Linked DNA regions of Homo sapiens: region 1 is linked to region 2. The links are contacts of gene promoters, found by promoter capture Hi-C in blood cells and fetal thymus (Javierre and others, 2016). All regions are on one chromosome and are shown on one strand. The core of a region is centred on a gene start or on the middle of the fragment in contact, and the rest is flanking DNA. Distances in the headings are between cores, read along the strand shown.

Evidence for each region. The method cuts DNA at HindIII sites, captures the fragments that hold promoters and counts their contacts. A CHiCAGO score of 5 or more calls a contact.
Region 1: a fragment that was not itself captured here is called in contact with the fragment with the promoter of OR5K4 in region 2 in 2 of 17 cell types (M1 macrophages and endothelial precursors); the score reaches 5.1 in M1 macrophages.

The regions. Positions count from the first base shown.
Region 1 is chr3:98,027,758-98,034,144 of GRCh38, reverse strand. The region is part of intron 2 of GABRR3 (gamma-aminobutyric acid type A receptor subunit rho3); the gene reads left to right. Among named protein-coding and RNA genes, the nearest start is that of GABRR3, 4.4 kb to the left of the region's middle. The HindIII fragment of the contact is 625 bases long and covers 2,764-3,388 here.
Region 2 is chr3:98,349,157-98,355,298 of GRCh38, reverse strand. OR5K4 (olfactory receptor family 5 subfamily K member 4) reads right to left here and starts at 1,445. Exons shown (of 1, transcript NM_001005517.1): 1 at 480-1,445. The coding sequence starts at 1,445. The coding sequence ends at 480. The HindIII fragment of the contact is 1,273 bases long and covers 422-1,694 here.

The DNA of each region.
Region 1 (6,387 bases), core at 1,827-4,326, 320 kb after region 2:
TCTTTGAGAAAGAGTTCTCTTTTCACCAAGCACCATATTTCCAAAAAGACCCAAAAGGAGAAATTGAGGAATGAAGAGTATCATCTGGTCAACACTGGCAGCCAATGGGGTGACAGATGTTTAAGCTAGATTGCTCTCACATCCTAAATATGTATTATGCATTCACTGTAAGATCAGGAAAGAGAACATAAAATTTTGATAAATATCTTCTGAAGTCTCAGGTTTAATGACCAAAACCAAAAGAAGTGTGTTACTAGATTACTGATTCCTGCACTGCGATTAAAAATCAGGGACTACTGCTCACACTTCCCTTCCATGCTTCTGCTCCCAGACCCAGACCTGAGATGATATGAAGTCTTGTTCCATTTAACCACTTTCCCAGTCTTCGTCATAGCAATTAGCTAAGGAAATATTTGGGAAATGTAAGAGTGTACCACCAGACTCTATTTTTTTTCATATAGCTTATTACGTTTTATAGTATGTTTTATCTAATTTTAAAAATCAAAGGACACTGCTTAAAATATTATCTGTCATCCATAGAGTAGACTTGTACAGTCTGGTGGATGTTTAGATGAGGAGAAGAGAGATGACTATAGTAGCTAATTCATCACACCAACCCACTATCAGTGGCAGAGTTGCTACAGAAAAAATCTACCATGTATATTTTTTAGGTGACATTTAAAGAAAAAGAAAAGAACATTGGTTCTTTGTGGTGAGGTAGAAATTTTTTCTGATGTTAAATGCCTCATTTTTAGATCCTATGTAAAGGAAAAGAAGAATTTTAGAGCCTATGCAAAAGCAGACTTCCCCCGTAGGAAACGCCAGGATTTCGGCCATGTGGGGCCAATCATATTTGTTGTCACTTCTATATTCCTAAATGAAGTGCTCCTTTGAGTCACAAGCCAGAATGGGATTCATTAAAATTTATATCTGCTTCTTTTGTTCTTCAAAGAAACACCCTCCAGGGCACTGGAGATTGCATAAACCATCACACTGGTCCAGAAGTAGCCACTTAGAATGAAACCCAGGCATTTTCCCTGAGTGAACAGAGTAACACAGCCAGCCAATTTCTGAGCTGTCATTCAAGCACTCTGTCATGCAGATTTTAGGGCATTTGACCAAAATACAGTAATTACTGTATAGAGTCATTTTTAGAGTAAGAGGCCCAGGAGTCTTCCTACCTTAGTATGTGAATAGATACTGTGAGGTTCTTTGCCCAGCACCCGACCTGATTATCAGCCAATAATTAAGTAATGAATGAATTAATGAATAATCCACTCTTCTATAATGCAAAAGAACTAATAGAGTGAACATGAAAGGAAGACATGATCTTTGAAAATTATAAGGGGGATTTATATATGCATTGTTTGGGGCCAGTTTTTATACAATAAGGCTCTTAAATGTTTTGCTTTTAGTTGTTTTCATTCAGAATATAACCTCACTTTTTAATCCAGAGATTCCCTTCTTTCAAAACCTAAAGACTTTAAAAAAATATGTATTCAAACATATCTTTTGTTTCCTAAAAACAAAGTAGGGAGAGGTGTGAATAAAGTAAGTTATGGCAGGTGGAAAATGTTCCCCTTTTACCTAGAGAAGAAATTTTACTCCTGGATGATGCAAAGAGGATTAAGCAAATAGACTCACTGAATATTTATTCATTCTTTCAACAATTACACTGAGTGATATTTACATGCAAGTGCTGGGTTGGGGCTAAAAATGCTATAAGAGCAACGTATTGACTCTGGCCTTGAAAATAATCAGCAGAGTGCTGGAGTCTGCTCAGTCTGGCTTGCAACAGCCAATCATTTTCAGGAAATTTATCAGCTGGCTGTTAAAAGCACACATTATTAAAAAATAAATTATATAAGCCTGCAATTAAATTAAATACTTTCTAAAATAAAGGTAGCAAATACTTAAAACTCACCACTTCCCAATGATTTCTCCACACTTTATCATCTGTTGCTCTTGAGGTTATTTAGGTCTATTGTAACTGTATTGTAGAAATACTACAGTATACCATTACTATACTATACTATACTATACTATACTATACTATACTATACTATACTATACTATACTATGTGCTAGACACATCTCTGCCATGCATGTTGTTGGTAGCCTGAAATCAGCCATGGTGGAAGTATTTACACCATGGAAATAAAACACTACTATAAACTGGGGCTTTTTTTCCTAAAGAGTCACTTGTTAAACATTACCCTGAACCTAATGTAAAAGCCAGTAGGTTCTCAGGCATGGCAAATCCAATGCTACTGCAAGCAAGACAGAAGAGAGTGGCAGAGACTACAACTACAAGGTATATGCTCCTCTGAGGGAAACTGGCTGGTCAGGTTCAGCCTTCTCTTGTTTTTGTTTGTTTTTTAATTTTTAACTTTTTTTTTTCTGAAACAAGGTCTTGTTCTCTTGCCCAGGCTGGAGTGCGGTGGTCCAATCATAGTTCACTATAACCTCAAACACCTGTGCTCAAGTGGTCCTCCCACCTCAACCTCCCAAGTAGCTGGGACAACAGGCGTGTGCCACTACACCTGGCTTTTATATTTTTTTGGTAGAGATTGGGTCTGTCTATGTTGCCCAGGCTGGACTCAAACTCCTGGCCTCAAATGATCCTCCAGCCTTGGCCTCCCAAAGTGCTGGGATTATAGGCATGAGCCACCGTGCCCACAGCCTTCTCTTGTTATAAGAGAACTTGAGCCTCGTGTGGCCAGATTTTCTGATTTTTTTCAAAAGAAGCAAGAAATCCAAGCTTTTCTCTGAATTTTTCCAAGTTAATGTACCACGTGAACCATTTTTTAAAAATGTCTGCAGACTAGCTGCTAATCTGGTCTAATTTCCTCATTTCACAGATGAGGAAACTGAGGCCTCCTCACTGAGCTTGTGATCTGACAGAGACCCAAGTGAGATGTGGGAACTGTCGTGTTTCAAGTGAAGCATTCTCTCTGGCTGGCTTTTCCACAGAAATGTTCATCTGCCTAGATTTTTTCCTTTACAAGAGACAGGCTATTGAAAAAGTCAGGTATGTATTTCCAGAGTTCAGAAGTTAGGAGTTCAATCAGAGCCATAAGATTCACTACATCTGATGTACCACGTTTTCTCTAAGACTTTTCAAAAACATCCAGAGCCTGGAAATAAAGATTGGATCAAGAATTATGAAGGTTTTCTTCGTGATGAAAAATTGGACCAATTGATTTTCCCACTACTTTACCTTATTCCTTGGATTTGCATCCATGTATATAGCCTAATAGAACATTTTTGCTTCATTTTGTATTTTTCTAAAGAAAAATAATAAGCCTACAAAAAGTTTTTAAAATTTTGCCTACATTATTTGGAACAGTTAGCTGAGTTTCAGTGTGCACTGGTTCACAGTAAAGCTTGACTGAGAAAAACGTCCATGTTATCAAGAGGCCATGCTTCTAGAATGACAAGGAGAATGGAGTGATAAGGTGGAGAGTTTTGACCAGATTCTTATTTGGAAAGGATTATAAATGGCAAGTTCAATTTTTTCTAGATAATTTATGATACAAATAACAATAGCAATAATGGATTTTTATGTGGAAAAAGATACCTAGAATCCAGTTATGCTTTTGTTTTTCCAAGCTCACGTCTAATCCTGATTCATGAAACTACATGATTTTTCCATGTTTAAAATCATAGCATAGAAACCATTTTGTATTTTCTTCACTTAAGCATTTCTCACATTGCTTCATAGACACCATAATGGTATTTTAATCACTCCATATTATTAATTTGAATTAAAGGACAAGAATTATCTCCTTTGTTTCTGAACATTTATTTTCAAGTTTGCACTATTATAAGTAACAGCAATAAATGTTTTCACACATTTTATTTTTTTCTTTACCGAGAAAATTATGATTTTTCTGGAATTGTATAATTGAGTAAAGCACATGAAATATTTTTATAGTTCTTGAGATGAATTTCTAGGGGAGTTTACCAATATTTATACTCCCACCTGCAAAATGAAAAGGATTTAATCATATCCTTTTTTTTTTTTTTTCCAAGACAGTCTCACTCTGTCACCCAGGCTGGAGTGCAGTGACACGATCTCGGCTCACTGCCACCTCTGCCTCCCAGGTTCAAGTGATTCTCCTGCCTCGGCCTCCTGAGTAGATGAAATTACAGGCTCCCACCACCACACCTGGCTAATTTTTGTATTTTTAGTAGAGATGGGGTTTACCATGTTGGCCAGTCTGGTCTCGAACTCCTGACCTCAAGTGATCCGCCCGCCTTCGCCTCCCAAAGTGCTGGGATTACAGGTGTGAGCCATCGCACCTGGCCTCATCATATCCTTCACAGCATGGGGCACTAACATTATTTTTTGTCTTTTGCTAATTTAATAGATATAAAATGACAGTTATGGCTTCAATTGGTATCACACTCTTGACCCCCTCAATTAAATACTTTTAAATTTGCTTATTAATTATGTCCTCCCTTGGGTAACTAGTCTCTTCGTGTCAGACCTAGTTCTTTTCAAATTCTGATTCTAGTTAACTCATCAAATATGTAGGCCTCCAGGCTCCAGGGAAAGCAGTTTTATAAGGCAGCCAACCGAGTGTGTGTGACTCAAGTCAGATGATTTTTTATCATTCCACTTATAAAACTCCAATGCCGCAGAATGAGTTAGGTGCATTTCCTTTTCCTCAATCAGTTCTAGTTTTTAATCCTTTGACTACTATGTCCTCCTCAAAGACCCTCTTAGTCCCCCTGAGACCACTCAGAATCAAGCCTTTCCCTCCTCCCAGACCTCTGCTTTCTTTGTCACACAATTACAGTAGAGTTTCTGACACTGAGAAGAGGGAGCATAGAAATATGTTTTCTTTGTGTGACCCAGGAAGGAAGAGGCCCCAATTCAAAGAGAAAAACCACACCTATTACCAAGACTCACGCCTACTGTTTCTCAATCTTCATAATACTTTGTGGGAAAGGACAAAAATTAGGAATGCCAGTGAGAGGCTCTCCCACGAATTGAGATTTCTTTGCCTGATCCCATCAGGACTCAGACTCCTAGAAGATCCTCTCCTCAGACAGAAGAAATCCAAAAGCTTCTTCTCAGTAGCGGCTAAACTGAAATCATTTTTTTTTTCTAGAATGGGGGAGAGGGGAGAAGACACAAAGGGATTTAAAGTGGTATGTGTATAGAATAAGACTAGAACACTCTGAGATAAATCTGATGCTCCATGATATAGTGATCCTTTATTAAGCAAATTTCCTTCTGTCTCCTTGGTTTTATTTCATCCTTCATTTTATTTACCTTCCTATGTATGCATCAGAGGCCTTCAAACGAGGGTGTCTATCCTCCTGGGGTACAATGTATTATACCTCTAAGGGTAGATGCAAGGTATCTGAGGGGCATGTAGACATGAATAGTTTTAAAACAGTTTTTGGATCTTTAACTTCCCTCTGACCTCTTTCTTAAAACTGATCTACTCACCACCTGCAGTGTCCTTTATTACCTCCTTTTAATGATTGCTCTGTCCCACCTGGCAATATACAGGCATCCCTCTCCCTCTTCCTGAATCCTACGAGTATTGCCCCAGCGTGTAAAAAGTTCCTGGGTACAAAGAGATCATTACAAATATTGTTGTTGAGATAGCGGATGATGCTGTACTTTTCTTAATGGCAATTCTCTATTTTTTGCTTTTAACAAAATTGAAGGAAGAACCTAATTAATTTGTCAGGTTATAAATAATTAAACTGATTGTTGAAGATAAATTCTACAGTGTGAGTTTTGAAAAGTAAGTAAGGAGTTTAAGTAATTAAGTTGCTTTGTTAAAAGAATACTGAAACAAAATTTCTTCAAATTCCATGTACTTCCACATATATGAACAAACTTTCTCAATATTTCCATCTATAAAGATTAAAAAATAAGAACAGAATTAATGCAAAAACCGAGTTTTATTCCAGCAATGAGTAATACCCATTTGCCGATACATAGAATAATTGGAGAAAGTGAATCATCAGTTCATTAATAAATACAATTTTAATAAAATTTTATTCTTAATTTTAATAAGTATCAATATTTAAACAAATTGTTTTATTCCATTCATAATTATTATAGAAAATAAAAAAGTTAATTTCTATGCTTACACATTTTTCTTACAAAGGTACATGATGGAGTGATAAAATTATATGAAGTAAATAAAATGGAGATAGTAGTTTTTTTTAAAAAAAGAATGATATAAAATTTCTGATTTTTAAAAAGCTTGTTCAGGTATCTTTAAATGCATAATGTGTATATTTAGATTCACTGGATACACTTAAAGGAACAATATGTTTTATCTGAAATCATCAATATTTGAGTAATTTCAAAATTTATGATGAAGAAATGTAAATGTCTATTTAAATATATGTGAG
Region 2 (6,142 bases), core at 196-2,695:
AATATAAATTACTGCAATTAGTTTGCTTCTAGTCTTTTCCACTCTAAAGTAATCCACATGTGTCTCTCAGGTCAGTTTTCTGAAAGAAAACTATCATTTCACTTTTCTGCCAGGAAATTTTAAATGTTTCAAACACGCTACATAGGATTGGATATAATGTCTTCCATTAACTAGGAAACATTAATCAAAGAAGACTCTTCTACACATTTAAACATTTAACTTTCATGCTATGTTGATTAATTGAGGTTTAGGATAATACTCTCTGACAATTCCATGAGAGTCATGAAAGGTAGTAATAACAGTTACCAGTGAGTTTCCCCGATTCATTCTGGTTGTGGGATTTGGATAAAGATTTGTGAAACAATTTTGAAATTCCATTGATATATTTTTTAAACAAACATAGCCTAATGATTTATAAGCTTACATTTTGTGTAAAATCACATATTAATTTTTCTATGTTCCCTCTTTATGAAAGCATTTTAATAAATTAAAAATAAATTTGCTATAGAGCAAGTTTGTTTAAGAATGTTATAATTCCTCATAATTTTTTTAAGAACATTTATGACCTCCTTATTTCTCAGACTATAAATAAAAGGGTTTAGTAATGGGATTACTATTGCATAAAATATTGCCACTGGTGTATCTTTATCTCCTTCTTCAGATGGTCCAATATACATGAGAAGACAAATGTAAAATATTGAGACAGAGAGAAAGTGGGATGCACAGGTAGAAAATGCTTTACCTCTTCCCTCCTTGGATTTCATTTTGAAAACAGTCAAAAGGATGCAGAGATAAGAGATCAAGACAGTAGCAATGGTAAAGATTTGAATTGGTATTGAAAAGATATATATCATTAGTTCATTAATAGAAGGATCTGTACAGGAGAGTCTATACAGTGGAAGAATATCACAGAAAAAGTGGTGAATTTTATTAGACCTGCAGAAAGTTAACCTTAATAAAAGCCCTACATGAATCATGGAATGCAGGTTTCCAGCTTTGAAGGCCCCTGTGGTCATCCGAATGCAGAGCGTCTTGGACATCATGGTGTGGTACTGCAGTGGGTGGCATATGGCCACATAGCGGTCATAGGCCATTGTCGCCAGAAGAAAGCAGTCTGTGGTTTCAGCAAGACAGAGAAAATAAAATTGTGCCATACATTCATACAGGGAAATAATTCTATCCTCAGAAAAGAAATTCTCTAACATCTTGGGGGTAACAGCACAGGAACAGCAGGAATCCATCAGAGCCAGGTTGCCCAGAAAGATGTACATTGGTGTGAGAAGACGACGCTCTACATAAATTAATGCCACCAGACCAAGATTCCCCACCATGGTGACCAGATAGATGGCAGAGAACACCACAAACAGAAGCGTCTTCAGCTCTGGATAATTTGTAAATCCTATGAGGATGAATTCAGCTGCTAAGGAGTGATTTTCCCTAGCCATTCCTGGCTTCTCTTCTGAGACATAAATTGTAAAGAAATGTAAGATTCCAAAGCAGAATGTTTCTAATTCTCACCCTCTAATTTCCCTGTATACAAAAGGGAAGAAAGTCTTCTTCAAATTATCCTGTGCCATCTCCTAAACACTAGCACACTCACTGTGGGTCAAATCAAGTGAGAAAAAATGTATCATGGATTGTGTACCCAGGGCTTGTCTGAAAATATCTGTGTGAATTCCTAGGGCAGGAAAGCTTTATCTGCATGAATTATCCTATGCCGATGTAAAATCTGTGGTCAGTACATATAATTTTCCATTTCCAAAATTAAGACATTTTCTTATGGTATCTTTTCCTCCAGGAAAAAGTAAACAAGTTTTAAATCGTATCCTATTGGATCAATGTGACGCTTAAAATGAATTACTCTTAAGGCATTTTAAATGTCTACATTTTAAAAACTGCACAGAAACACAGTGATTTGAAGAATGCTTTTGCTAGCTTAGTAACCCTTTCCAGATAAGGTCACCAATTGCATATTTTATGAGATATCTACTCATCCTTTTAGAGAGGATAAGAATATGAAACATCTATGAGTGTTCTTAATCATTGTATTGGATATCATTTTTATGTTCATTTCAACATATTCTAGATACTATTCCAATCTTGGTATGACAAATTTCCCAAGGAGTTATTACTCTTAATTGCTCACTTATCCTAATACTTTCTGTCTCTAGTTTTAAGAGTTTTACATGCATGTCCAACATTGTAAGATTTGGTGGCAAAATCTCCACTCATAATGTGAATATTCTTCATGGTAAATATCTATTTTGTATTCACTCAAACATCTCTCATAGAAAGTAATGTCTTCATTTTCAGTGAGTTCTATGGAGGTTCTCCATTTATTTACTTGAGTTTTAAATTTATTTAAATTTACAAACTCATTATCTACTCTTTACTGGCTATATATTTATTTGAGTTTAATGATCAACTAAATTTATTATATAGTTCTTATAGTTTGGCAACTGTACATTAAAATATTTCAGGTACAGAAACAATTTGAGTTTTAAAGAATAATAAAATTAACTTTCTTTTCTTTTAGAAGTTTCTAAAAGTCTTTAGCCTTAGCATACTCCAAACAGACAATTTTGGAGAAGAGCCTACGATAGTTAATTCAAAGCACATTTTTTTTTTTTTTGAGACAGAGTTTCAAGCACTTCTCCTGCCTCAGCCTCCCGAGTAGCTGGGATTACAGGCATGAGCCACCATGCCTGGCTAATTTTGTATTTTTAGTAGAGACGGGGTTTCACCATGTTGGTCAGGCTGGTCTCGAACTCCTGACCTCAGGCGATCCGCCCGCCTCGGCCTCCCAAAATGCTGGGATTACAGGCATGAGTCACCTCGCCCGGCCAGTGAATTACTTTGAAAACATTTTGGTTAGGTTTTCTCTGTTTCTTACTTTTGTTTTTCTATTGACTCACATAATATGATGAGGTTTTCTGGAGTTTTATCACTAGAGGCTTGTAATCAAATGAATACAATAAAATGTCCTTTATATTTTAGGTCTATACCTCTTTTAAAAAATCTTTCAGAATTATATTTTTAAAAAAACTTTGTAAAAGTATAAAATGCTGCTCTTTATCATTATTTTAGTAACATCTAATGGAAAATCAACTGAAAATATTTATCAGGTGGACTGTGGAAAAATGGATTTTATTATCAATAATTATTTTATATAGATCATATTTCAGAATATAATGAGTAAAATCTCATTTTCTCTTCACCAATGTAAAATATAATTTTTGAACTTAATCAAAAATTAATTTGCCTATAGATCGCAGAATTACTGTACAAGGACATCATCAGCCTTATCTGTGTATTTGCTGATAAAATTATGGTACTTTTGAACAAAGAATAGGTCAGACTTATCCACTTACTATGTCTCCTTATGGCTTTCTATAATGGCTTCACTTTAGAGACAAAGAGAATTATTAAGTGGCTAAAATTTAAAAACAATAAAAATACTGAAGTATATTAGAAAATTTATATTCTGCATTTTGATACTATAATATAAATAAATTAGTAAATAAAATTAAGTCCTCATATTTTGAGTTCACTGAGAAACATTTTATAGTAGCTGACTGGTCTCCTGATGTTTTTTCTTTGTAGGGAAATTAAGAATAAAAACATTGGTTTTTAAATCATTAGGGAATAAATTATAAAAATCTAGGACACTCCCTACCAATAGGTTAGTGACAATAGTTATGCAAGTCTCAGGCAAAGTTAAAGTTTTCTATTCTAAAGGGACTTCCTCGGCATTGGCATCAGAGTGTTTCTGCAGAGACTCTAATCTGATGAGCATGGTTCCCCCAGCACCAGTAAATCAAACAGCATATAAAGATGGATGCATTTTGAGATTCGGAAGTTAAATCAAAATTGCTATCACTAAAAACAGCTTAAGGTTCATCTTGATTTTTCACATACTTGGAAACTCTCTCTTTCTCTTACACACAGACACACACACACACACACACACACACACACACACACACCCCTTGATTACCTGAAAACTATGATGGAGAGAAAAAGATTTACATTGATCAGTTGAGGTGGAAGTTAAACAGAGATTTGAAGAGAGATTTGTATTTGTGGACAAGAGGCAAAAATGTGGCAGGATCACCCAGGGTTGTATTCCTTTCTTTTGCTCCCCAAATTAATCTGGTCAAATCTTGTACATTCATCCTCTGAAGTAAGTCTGACATTATGTTCTTCAGTTTCACTTATTTGTCATAAGGTAACTTTAAAAAACTTAATTGAGGTATGATTTATGTGCAAAAAGCTATACACATATAATGTATACAACTTGATAAATTGGGACATAAGTATACACCCACAAAACTATTACCATAATCAATGCCATCATCATAAGATAACTTACTTGTTAATTGGTCTCCTATCCCCATCTTTTCTCTAGTGTGTAGATATGCTCTTATGCATTAGAAATATTTTTGGCTTCTCATTAGTCTTCAAACCAAGTTTTGTCCTTTATCTTGGTACTCCAAGGGCTCCATACAGAGGGCTTATATCACTTAAGGCTATTTTCTACCATTCACCTTTAAGAATCCATCTCCAGAGACACGCCTATAACTTATCTATTCCTTGATGTGTTAGAGTTTAACCTTGACCTCAGAATATTTACTCAGAATCTACTCTTCACATGAAATGCCCTCTTTGATTTATTCTTCTATCCAAATCTTACTCAATTTTTATGAGATCTGATTCTCATTATGAAGACATCCTCAACTTTCTGATCTGCAAGATAATGACTGTTTGTGTGATGCAAAGAGCTCTTAATTGTACTTCACTCCTGTGTTCATTCAGCTGTTCTTCATGTGCAAGTTTTGTTTATTCTTAGATTGATTTTCTTTTTGGTTTTCCACACTGCAAATCCCTCATAGTTCCAGAAAATGTAGGCCGTCGGTGAATGCTTATTGAATTGCTTGCAGAAATTTCAATTAAATTAACTTCAACATTATAGAGTGACTACAATAGAGAAGTCATGGAGTAAGACATTGCGCAAGGAGGGGTATGTGGTAGGAGTGAGTTAGGGCAGGAACCTGAATAGATAAATAAGAAATAATCCTGCCCTTAGAGAGCTCCCAATCTAGAGGATAAAATCACTTATACAATGATATAATATAGAAACTCAGGCTGAGTTAAGTATTACAAACTGAACTATAAGCAAGGTATATGAGAACACAAAGAAGGACTTAGAGAACTAAGAGAAGACATTATACAAAATGACATTTCTCATGATTCTTGAAGGATAAATTAAATTTCAATAGGCAAGAAGAATGTGTAGCAAAGAATTACAGGTTGAAGGAGCGGCATGATTAGAAGTAAAAGCATGGAAACTTGAAAGCACAAAGCATATTCAGTGAATGGAGAGTGAACCAGAGTAGCCAGAGTCTGGGCTCATGACAGGAAGGAGTTGGAGGTTCTCATCGCCACTCTCTCACTAAGATCACTACTCAACTCCTAATTACCACACCTAAAGCATTTTTTTAAATTATTATCTTAACTAATTAATTTTATGATTTGGCACCATTGACCACACTCTGAAGCATATTTGCTTCTCAGGCTTCTGTGATTTAATGCTTGTTTATTGCTACATCTCGGGCTGTTCTTTCTCCATGTTTTCTCTTAGATCCTCTTTTCTTCCTTTCCTCACACGCACAAATTCCTTAAAATAAAAGTACAACCTTGGGTACTTTTACAAAATTATGGCACTTTGTTTTAAATACTAGACACTAATTTAGAAAAGGCTTGCCTGATATTTAGCCAGTAAATCACCATACTCTCTGATGTCAATCAGTTGTTTTGTAAGAAAATTAAAAAGTGTAAGCAAATTAAAAATTTTTAAATTTGAAAAACAAGTTCAAATTTCTCTTAAAATATGTGGAATATTTTTATGAAGGTGGAAACATTGTGTTTCCAAATTTTTTAAAAAATAAGCAAACATGAGAGTTTTTAGTATGTTATCAGATAATTTTTGCCCAGAGTATTATATGAGGATATAGAAAAACATACTAAACATGTTTCAAGATTTTATCTGTGTTGCACAATTTCATATTGATAGTAGTTACAGTTCACTTAGTTAAATATCATACTGACATCAAAGGACAAAATAAAGGTTTTAATCATTTAA